2 separate regions of the Homo sapiens genome follow, and region 2 is linked to region 1. Evidence: promoter capture Hi-C in human tissues and cell types (Jung and others, 2019). All regions are on one chromosome and are shown on one strand. Each heading gives the region's core, a stretch centred on a gene start or on the middle of the fragment in contact. The rest is flanking DNA. Distances are from core to core; before and after follow the strand shown. Region 1 holds the start of VSX2 (visual system homeobox 2). Region 2 holds the start of LOC105370563 (a long non-coding RNA gene).

Region 1 (5,222 bases), core at 1,801-4,300:
GGTTTCACCATGTTGACCAGGCTGGTCTTGAACTCCTGACCTCAAATGATCCACCCGCCTTGCCCTCCCAAAGTGCTGGAATTACAGGTGTGAGCCACCACACCTGGCCCTTTATGATAATTCTAAGGAGTGGGGTCCTACTATGATCCCCATTTTATGGATGAAGAAACTGAGGCACAGAGGGCACAAAGAGGTTAGATAATATTCCCAAAGTCACCAAGCAAGTGATAGAGTGGGCATCTGAACCCAGGCAGTCTGGCTCTAGAGACCAGGCCCTTGTCCTCTATGCTAACTCAGGGGGTCAAGGGATGCTCACAACCCCATTATCGGGCTATTTTCTAGGTAAAGCAATCGATGTTAAGAGAGAAGAGAAATGATGAGCTCAGAGAAGGCCCAGGTTTGGACTCAGTGTGACCAAACTAAATGCCTCTGAAAGGGTTCACTTCACTCCCCACACCCCTGGCCCAAGCTGTGGGGATCTGCATTTCCTTGTAGGGTCCCCCGTTATGGTCCACAAATGTCTTTTTTTTTTTTTTTTGAGATGGAGTCTCCCTCTGTCATTCAGGCTGGAGTGCAATGGCGCGATCTTGGCTCACTGCAACCTCCTCCTCCTGGGTTCAAGCAGTTCTCTCACTTGAGCCTCCGGAGTAGCACACGCCACCACACCTGGCTAATTTTCGTATTTTTAGTAGAGACAGGGTTTCACCATGTTCGCCAGGCTGGTCTCAAACTCCTGACCTCAAGTGATCCGCCTCCCTCAGCCTCCCAAAGTGCTGGGATTACAGGCGTGAGCCACCACGCCCGGCCACAAATGTCTTAAGTCTGGGTCCAGCCCAAGCTGGGCAGCTGGGGAGCAGTAACAGTGACACCTCAAAAGCTCAGAGACAGCCCCGTAGCCAGGAGTCTGTCAAGGAGTCCAGCTCCCAGGGTGGAGCTGGCCGCAGGTGGAAGCTGAGTCCTCCCTTCACCTTCAGCCTCTGGCAAGGGTTTTTCTCAGGGGGCCTGGGGTTGTCCCGGTCTCCAACCTCCTACAGCAGGATGGCGACTATCTCTCTGATATTGGGAACTGGCAGCTTCAGACATGGGGTTTGGTCAAGAGATTTTTCATCCTCATCTGGCAAGAGCCAACTTCATCACTCACACACTTGTTTTCCATCACTCACGTTTGCCCATCAGCTGGCATCTGGCTCATCGTGGATGTCTCATGATAAGTCAGGGACATGACAGATGCCATTAACATAACATCCTCATCCATCCTCCCAGGGTGGGCTGGCATGGAGAGTGGGCTGAGAGAGGGATGGAGTCAAAAGAAAACAGCTTCTGACATCAGACTCATGCGCTGACTCATCTGACCTCTGATGCTTACTAGCTAGGTAACCTCTTAGGCAACATAAGTTTGTGTATCCATTAAATGGGGACAGAAATTCTTTTCTGGCAGGTGAGTCTACTGCTTTGCACAACTCCAGAGGGCACCATTCACATTGTTGTCTACGTGAGTGGTGTTACTTGGGACCCACCTCCATAGAATATAAGGTGAAGAATGCCTTGAGATTGTGTCACCAGAGATGACACCATGTAAGGGGCCTGGGATGATGTAGGCACACAGTAGGCACGGCCTTATTATGGGATACAGAGGCACCACTCTCCCAGATATCTCCTGCACCATGAGATGCCCCTACCTAATTCCAGCTGTTATGTGGACCAAACCAATGGGAGTGGAGACCCTCCTCACAACAGCCCTGCTAGCAAGGTCTAGGTTCCACATCCTGAGGTGCCTCCTCTTACCTCTCAGGCTGGCCCCATGGCAGCCACGAGGGTACCAGACACCTTGGCAATAGGCCAGGTATGGCTAGGGGGTTTCCTTCCATTTGGGGGTTTGCACCTGACTGGCTAAGAAATCCTGGATGGAATCTTCCCAGCCTGGTTTTCCAATCTCTGCTTAAAGCAATGGACCTAGTCCTTATCTCCCCATAGGGTGCCTTCAATTCAAGGAACCTACCATGAACTGACCATATGCTAGGCGCAGTGAAGAAGGGAGCCTCAAGGTCGATAAGATAGTTCCCAGCCCCAAGAAGGTCACAGAAGAGTTAGCTGAGGTGGTGGAGTGCAGGGGAAAGCAGCTTACCTTTTAATTTCCTCTCACCCGCTTCCTCCTTCCTCTCCCTCCACATCAACAATCCCTTCCTCTTCATTCTGTTTGCTCAATGAACTCTGAAGTATAGCAGGGCCCTTGCCTTGTCTGATTTACTGCGGAACCCCTGGCTACCAGGTCGGAGCTAGTAGCTCAATACATATTAGTCGAATGAATTGGGTGGAAGAATCAAGTCCTCCCATGAAAGTTGGGCATGCTTCATGCTTACTCTAGGAAGAGGTTTGGATGTCCATGGTTGTTCTCCAAAAGTAATCATCACTGTTCCTCTTTCCCACCAGGGACCCCTCTTTCTGACCCATTTATCATTCATTCATTGGGCCAATATGTGTTGAGTAGCTCTTCCGAACTAGGCATTATACCTTGTGCTGGGGAAGCAAACTTTCCCTACCCCTACATCACCCTCTGCACACCTTGGCCTGATCTTTTCCCAGCTTACCACCACACACACTGCCCCAGCACTTACCTCTCCCTTGTTCAACCGTTTACACAGAGGTGCCATATTCAGGCCGCCCTGATGCTGCCAACCTGCATAGGAGTTGAGGGAAGGAGGTCTCCCAGTCTCTCACCTCTGCCCTTAGCCCATCCTTCCACCTGACCTCAGGGACCTGTCCCTGCCAGAATCTGCCCAGAGCCCCAAGCCACTCTGCCTCCCGGAACAGCCCTGAACCTGAACCTGGTTGTCTCACTTCGGCCCCTGGGGTCCCTGCCCATGGGCATCCTGCAGAGCCCACCCGGTGCTCCACCCCCAGCACCCTGGCCATTCGACATTGCCTGCGGCGGGAGCTGCCAGCTTTTTGGAATTCCTAATCGCTCCTGGCCCCGGTGATTGGCTGCTCAGCTCTGACCCCACTTGGGCTGCCGCCTGGTTGGATAAAAGGGGAATCTCCTTGGGCTCCAGAGCATTAGACACCGGAGGGGGCACCTGGGACCAACTTCGCGAAGCGGGAAGCCCGGCGGGGGGGTGGGGGGAGCTAAAGACCTGCGGCCTCAGCCCCTCCAAAGAACAGGGAGATGACGGGGAAAGCAGGGGAAGCGCTGAGCAAGCCCAAATCCGAGACAGTGGCCAAGAGTACCTCGGGGGGCGCCCCGGCCAGGTGCACTGGGTTCGGCATCCAGGAGATCCTGGGCTTGAACAAGGAGCCCCCGAGCTCCCACCCGCGGGCAGCGCTCGACGGCCTGGCCCCCGGGCACTTGCTGGCGGCGCGCTCAGTGCTCAGCCCCGCGGGGGTGGGCGGCATGGGGCTTCTGGGGCCCGGGGGGCTCCCTGGCTTCTACACGCAGCCCACCTTCCTGGAAGTGCTGTCCGACCCGCAGAGCGTCCACTTGCAGCCATTGGGCAGAGCATCGGGGCCGCTGGACACCAGCCAGACGGCCAGCTCGGGTAGGTGAGGAGAGGTTGCGCTGCTGCCTGACTGGGGGGCGACAGCCGGGAGCCCCGCGCCGTCGGCTCTCGCTTGCTGGACCAGGCCTCCAGGCGGAAAAGTTCCTGCCAGGCCGGGGGTCGCCGCCTGGGCCTTGGGCCGACGCGCCTGGTGATGGGGCCCGGGAGGATGCTTCGGCGTCCGCAGGGTTTCGGCCCCAAGCGTTTCGGGCGGCCGCGCAGTTCTCCAGTCCCCGCGTCGGGCAGGGCTCGGCCACGGCACTCTGTTGGAGCCCCACTGAAAACTGGGTTTGGGGTGTCGGAGCCCGTGGTGCAGAGTCGCCGGCCGTGTCGGAGGGCCCCAGCACCGCTGCTCCACTGCGGCCCCGGCCTGGTGTAGGATCCGCACTCCTCGAGCCCGATGCTGTTCCGGCTCCGGCCCCATCCCTGGTGTCCAAAGTTGTCTGATTCCCAAATCCCGCGCTGGTCAACTGGGGTTTATTTTTCACCCCCACGAGCTCAGACAACCCGGCCATCGCGGCAGCTAAAGCGGCCGCCATCCTCTCCCACGTAAGCGCCACTATATACTGGAGCCCGGGGACGCGCGGGCTCGGGGACCCTGGGTGACCTCTCCGCCTTCTCCCCGCGCTGCTTTCCGGGAGGTGTGTCGCGGCCCGCTCGAACCTCCGATTCCTGTTTGAGCTTGGCAATTCCCCCGATTTTTCGTTGCGTTTTACTTTGTTTTACGTGGAAAGGCAACGAAAACCAGCGCGTCGCAGGCTCTCGGGCCTCGAGTAGGGACGCATTGTGCCGCCTTGCGAAAAGGACGGTGCTCGGCAGCCCCCAGTCTTCCCGGAGCCCAGCTCCCCACGCCTCCGCTCCGCTCCTCGCTCCTCGAGGCCAACTTTCCGGCCCGGGGCATTGGGGCTGGCCGCGCAGGGCAGGGCGCAGCAGGGTCGCGAGCGCTGCCGGGGATCTCTGCGGCCCCCTAAGGCTGCCTCGCTCTCCGTCGTCCCGGTCCCAAGCGCGCCGGGGCCTTTGCCTCTCTTACAACGAAATCTGTTCAAAACCTCCGGATTCGGGCCCCGGCGCGGGAGAGGTCAGCCTGAGCTCAGGGATGGGACGGCCACCGGGGCGCCCGCAGGCTTCCTGGGGAGACAGAGCAGGTCCCCGCCGCTCGCGGAGGCAGCCCGGGGTGGGGCCCTCGCGGGTTTCGGGCACAGCGGAGCGCGTCCCCCACTCTGCCGCATGTCCCTACGCCCGCTTTTCAGATTCTGAAGATGTTTCCTCCAGCGATCGAAAAATGTCCAAATCTGCTTTAAACCAGACCAAGAAACGGAAGAAGCGGCGACACAGGTGAGGCCCCCGCTTTCTGTTACCTCTCCTGCCCGCGCACCCCGCTGCCGTCCCCCGTTCCGGGATCGGGTCTCTCGGACCCTATTTTCGCCGACAACGGATCTGAGGTCCGAGGCCGTGCCAGGGCGCAGACCACGGGTTGTTTGGCGGAATCTGCCCGGGGGCCTTGGCGTCGGCACCGGTTGAGCAGGATGAGTGGCCGCCGGGAAAGCGGCCCGGTTCGGGCTTTCTCCTCCTTGTTCAGGAGAAAGGAAAGGCTCCAACACAGGCCAAACTGAGCCACAGAGTGGGGGCGGTCCCCAGATCCCCGCACCAGTACATTCTGAGAGCCACACAGACCCGGCGGCGGGCAGA
Region 2 (5,739 bases), core at 742-3,241, 99 kb before region 1:
CTGAGCATGTGTTCCGCACATTCAGAAAACAGAGGGAAAAGTGAGGTAAATAATCCAGGGAACACCTCTTGGAAGAGATGAAACTTGAAATAGAATTTGATGTCTAATATTTGTATATAAGAGGAAAGAATACACTTCAGAATGGGAAGGAATTTTTGAGAATGGATAAGATATTTTGGGGGAAAATTGATAAATTGTAACAGACTAGAGAGATGAGTCAAAGTGATTTCAAGATTTTAAGCCCTTGTGACTAGGAGAATACAATTTAGTGTGGAACTGAGATATGCATTATAAAACTTCAGTTTTGTTTGCTAAGGTGTTGTTAAAGCATCTTTGAAGGCCAACGTGGCATGATCACTTGAGGCCGGGAGTTCAAGACTAGCCTGGACAGCATAGCGAGTCTCCATCTCTACAGAAAAATTTAAAAATTAGCTGGTGAGGTGGCTCAAGCCTGTAGTCTCTGCTACTTGGGAGGCTAAGGTGGGAAAATCACTTGAGTCCAAGAGTGAGGCTGCAGTGAGCTGTGATTGCACCCTCACCCCACCCCCTATCCTCTGCACTCCAGCCTGGGAGACAGAGTGAGACCCTGCCTCAAAAAAAAAAAAAAAAGGCATCTTTGAAATGAATAACTTAACAATTTAAACTACTATCAGGGTTATATAGGTGAAAAGGTTGTGAATATATAGTCTGTTAATTATGATAAAGTGCAACCATATATAACAGGAAATCTAAAATAATTGTGGCTTACACAAGGTAGCATTTTTTTTTTTTTTTCAACAAAAAGGAAAGCTGGAGGTAGATGCACCTAGCAGGTAGGGCAGTTCCAAAGGTGTCATCAAGGACTAAAGTTTCCATCCTTCCATCCTAAATATACTTTATACACGCTAGAGCTCTAGCCATCATGCCTGAATTGTAGGCAAGAAGGTGGGGTAGGAATTTAATTTAAAAAAGGGATCCCACACAGCTGACACTTTTCTTTTTAAGCAGCCTTCCTGGAAGTCCCACAGAATTTAAATCACCTGGCCTGGCTGCAAAATAATGTAATTGTTTATTCTGAGCTATAATTTTGGTAGCAAAAAAGTTGGCTATCTGTTAATACAGAGGAAGAGGGAACATGGATCTTGGAATAGGCAGCCAATATTCTCTGCCATAGCAGGGGACAAGAGACCTTTGCAAGAGCAGTGGGGTCAGTAGAAGGATGTGAGGTGATGTGTTGAGAAGGAAGCTCAGAATTAGTGATTTTACAGGTGCATGTATGGACTTAGTGATCTTGTTTTCTTTACCACATTAAGCTTGTTTGGTGCTCCATAAATGGGTGACTGCGTGCCCAACATCTCCTGTTAAAGGATCTTGCAGACCTTTTTTTTTCCCCCTCCCTTTGGCTATTTCTCCAAGTAAATAAATATTAGAAAATATCAGCTCTTTTTCATCTTCAGGGAACAAGCCACTCAAGAAATGGTCAGTTTTTAAAATTGCTGAGCAGAACCTGCTATAGATATTTCCAGTATGGAGAAGAGAAACACTTGGATTTCTGATTTGTGTATGTTTACCAAAACAGATTCTAAGATATAAGAAAAATATTGCTAGAGTAATATTTTCTTTTATGCAGCTAGCATAGTGAGTCCAAGAGTTTATTTTTATATTCACTGTGTTTCACATAGGCTTGATTATAATAGGCTATTGGTGTTGTTGAATGGATGATTGAATTATTTCTGAAGCCTGTATGAGGTAGACTGTGGTGATATTTAGAAGTTAAAGGCAGTCTATGGTTTAATGTAATAAAACATGCTTCATAGCTAGTAAAAAAGCTATCCCTTTTATAATATATAGTGTATAGATTATATAATTAATATAAAGCCACAATAGCTTTATTACTAATTTAAAATTTAACTCCTAAGAACACTTCAGCAAAAACACAAAAATAGATTCACTTAAAAGCTTTTTAAAAATAACTTAGCCCAAAACACCAAATAAGTCTAGTAGAGTTTTGCTGCTTTAAATGTAAAAAGCAGCATTTTACTCTTAGTATTTAAAGGCGACTCCTTACCTTCTTGTAGCACTTTGTCTACTGCAGAATGTGCATGATTTTGCCCTAGTTATGGTGACTGGATTCTCATCCTCTCAGTAGGATCAATATTAAGCTAGCCTTCTTTACCTCCTCGATCCATATTAAACCTGTCTTGGAAAGAGTCTGTTTATTGGATAATATAGCTACACCGGGGCTCTATGACAATATCTTTTGCTGCCTCATTAACTCTCGAGCATTAGAACAAGATAAAAATGCCCTAAAGCCTCTTATCTGATGTCTGGTGTAACCTGCTGTAAGCAGGATTGCCATTAGTTTATGTTAGAAATCAAATGACCCTCTCCAGTGCAGGAAGTACTGATTAAACCTGAAGTGTCCCCGGAGGACTCTACAGCTGTCAGAGGGGTGGTGACTGTCCGTCACGAAAAGGGAAATCTGGGCCAGAGGTCCCAGTGGGGCGGTGCTTTAAGAACCCGCACGTGGCTGCCCCAGCTGTTCTGCTTTGCCTAATGAATTGTTTTACAAGAAGAGGCTGGGTATTATCATCACAAGCTGCCTTCCTTAGGGACTGGAGCAGGCCAAATAATAAGTAATGTTAGTGATGGTAATTGAAATGTGATGGCTCTCCTGAGATCTTTATGGCCCTGGAGCTGGTTGGCACTTGTGGATTGCCTTGTCCTAGCAAGTGCCTTATTTTTTTTCTGTTTTGTAATACCGTTGTGTGCGTTTTTCTCTTCTGTCCCCCATGGAAATTCATTAATAAAAGCTATCGTAGGAACATTACAATGATGTTAACTACAAAAGGAACAGTTTTAACTTTTTCATTTCAATTATCAAACACTGTAATGGTAAATAAGTGGTTTCTGGAGGAAACCACTGTAAAGATCTCTCTGTGCTTTTAAAGGAATATGTTAAACTTATACAAATAATACAAGCTCTTGATTTTAAGAATATTTTAAAATAACATGAAAGGATATAAAGTGAAAAGTAAAATCCTTATCTGCTGAATTTATGAGCGGTAACTGCCACGAACAGTTTCTCCATGGATGCTTCCAGACATTTTCTGTACATAGTAAAGTTTATATACATTACCATACACAGATGCAATCATAATATACATACTGTTTTGTGACTTATCTTTGACCCCACAACATGTCTTGGATATCTTTCCACAGCAGTATACATAGATCTGCTTCACTGTTTTCCAAATGCTTCATAGGATTTCACTATATGGATGTACCAATTCAAGACTCTTTGTAGATAGTTTGACTTGGACCTTATAAATGAAGCCTTACCATACAAGCAGGTTGCATCCACTGACTTGTGTTCCATAGTTCAAACTCTGCTTTTACATGAAGTGATTTTCCTTACTTCAGGAATGTTACATTTTAGTCCAGTATTGTTTTAAAATAGGAAATTCTGGAGGTAAAGCTTTTAGGGGGGAGGTAGTGTGAGTCTTGTCATGCATCATTAGCCGGACATATGTGTAGTGATATGCACCCCACTGTGTGCTTTTAATTTGTTGCTTAGTTAAATGAGAAGTATTCTGTCCCAGATAGGTGGGGAAAACAAATAGCCTTTGATGAGTGTTGTCCAAGGCACTGACTGGCGGCTTCCTCTAAAGTTGAATGAGTGTTTTCTCCCCTAATTTTCTACTTCAGAAGTTCCAGGAATCAAGTTTTGAACGCATTAATGGACTTGGGAAATGATTTGTCAGCACGTGGAAATGAGGACTTAGGTTTCTTGTGTAACAGCTTGGCTAACAAAGCAAGTTTGTGCCTCATGAACTTTAAGGGCCTTGCTGGGAGTGGCAGTGTGATGAATGAAGCAAAGCAATTTTCCAGGAGCATTTCAGGTCAGTGATAGGAGAAATCAGTTGTCTTCTCAGTCAAACAGAAACTTAATTTTAGTTGCATCTGTCTTAATAAGAGAATCTGTATGCAAATTGAATGGTAGAAATTCCACATCTGCCAAAGATGGGAGCATTGCAAGTCTTTTTTTTAACTCGAAGCTCTTTAGTCCCATTCTCAACACTTCAAAATTGAGGTTTGACCAAATATTGAAGAGATGTCATACTACTAAATTGCAAAATGCAAACTAGTTTTGTTTCAGACTTTTTATACAGTGCTTTTCTTGTCCTTGATGTTAGTCATTTGAATTGATGCCCAATCTTTAATTTAATAATTGGAGGCTATTATTAATAACAATAACTGATTTACTTCTTGTCCAAGCCTTTATTAGATTCATGGGATGTAGGTATACAGAGATTTCTGGGGCTGTTCTGGGCTATTGGAGATCTTGTAGACCTAAACTATTCAAAGCAGTAGCCACTAACTGCATGTGTTTGTTTGAAGTTAAATTAATTAAAAATAAAATTTAAAATCTAATTCCTCAGTCACTCTAGGAAATGCTCAGTAGCCATGTGTCGCTAATGACTACCACATTGGACAGCACTGCTCTAGACCAAAGGTCAGCAAACTATGGCCTGCAACCTGTTTTTGTATTCTCTGAGCTAAGAATGTTTTTTACGTTTTTATGGGGGCTGTAAAAGTAAAACAAAAACAAAAAACGGAAGAATCTGAAACAGACTGAATGTGGCCCACAAGCCTAACATAACATCCTTACGTCCCATTCATACTTATGTTATGTTAGGCTTGTGGGCCACATTCAGTCTGTTTGGTTCTTTACAAAAAACCTTTGCTCAGCCCTGGACCTATGCTTCCTCTTGGTGACGTTTTGGCTTTCTGATCAAATTGGGTTAGGACTTTCCATAAGTCATCAGAAGACTAAATCTAATAAGCAAATAGACAAATTTCAGATAAAGTTTCTTACTATAGATAGACTATGGAATGAGTCCAGAGCATACACAAATCAGTTCCCTGAAGCTAGGACAAGCGGGATGTGCATTTGAAATAGGAAAATAGTTTATAGTATAAATTATCAATTTCCTACAAGCTTTGTGCATAACACCTATAGTTTAACAGAACATCTTTCTTATTTTGTACACTATTTTGTGTCTTCTGTGTTCTATACTCTCCTATCTTACTCTGACAGAAACAGAATGAGCCTGGGCATAGTGGCTTATGCCTGTAATCTCAGCACTTTGAGAGGCCAAGGTGGGAGGATCACTTGACCCCAGAGTTCGAGACCAGCGTGGACGACATAGAAAGACCCTGTCTCTGCCAAAAAATACCAATAAAATTAGCCAAGTGTGGCAGTGTGCCCCTGTGGTCCCAGCTACTTGGGAAGCTGAAGTGGGAGGATGCATTTGAGCCCAAGAAGCAGAGCCTGCAGCGAGCTGTGATTGCTCCACTGCACTCCAGCCTGGGCAACAGAATGAGAAGCCTCTGTCTCCACATAGTCCGCCAAAAAAGCAGATGCACTTTTTAACAAAGAATTTACTGTGAAGTTTTTTTTTAACTATACAAATTATAATTTTTTCATATTTTTAATTGATACATTATAATTGTACATGTTTATGGGGTACAGTTTGACATTTCAATTCACATATGTTGTATAAAGATCAAATCAGGGTAGCTAGCATATCTATTACCACATGCATTTATTATTTCTTTGTGGTGAGAACATTCAAAAGCCTCTCTTCCAGCTATTTCATAATATGTGATACCTTACTGTTAACTAGTCACCCTGCTGTGCAACAGAACACCAGAACTCCTGTATAATTGTAATTTTGTGCCTGTTGACCAAACTTT

Evidence for each region. The method cuts DNA at HindIII sites, captures the fragments that hold promoters and counts their contacts. A contact is called where the count stands out against the background at its distance.
Region 2: a contact is called between a fragment that was not itself captured here and the fragment with the promoter of VSX2 in region 1, in 2 of the 25 tissues and cell types used here (dorsolateral prefrontal cortex and ovary).

The regions. Positions count from the first base shown.
Region 1 is chr14:74,236,399-74,241,620 of GRCh38, forward strand. VSX2 (visual system homeobox 2) reads left to right here and starts at 3,051. Exons shown (of 5, transcript NM_182894.3): 1 at 3,051-3,533; 2 at 4,784-4,868. The coding sequence starts at 3,164. RefSeq lists an enhancer at 4,402-5,222. The HindIII fragment of the contact is 17,172 bases long and covers 1-5,222 here.
Region 2 is chr14:74,138,177-74,143,915 of GRCh38, forward strand. The region is part of intron 5 of LIN52 (lin-52 DREAM MuvB core complex component); the gene reads left to right. LOC105370563 (a long non-coding RNA gene) reads right to left here and starts at 4,385. Exons shown (of 3, transcript XR_944024.3): 1 at 2,048-4,385. The HindIII fragment of the contact is 4,455 bases long and covers 1-4,219 here.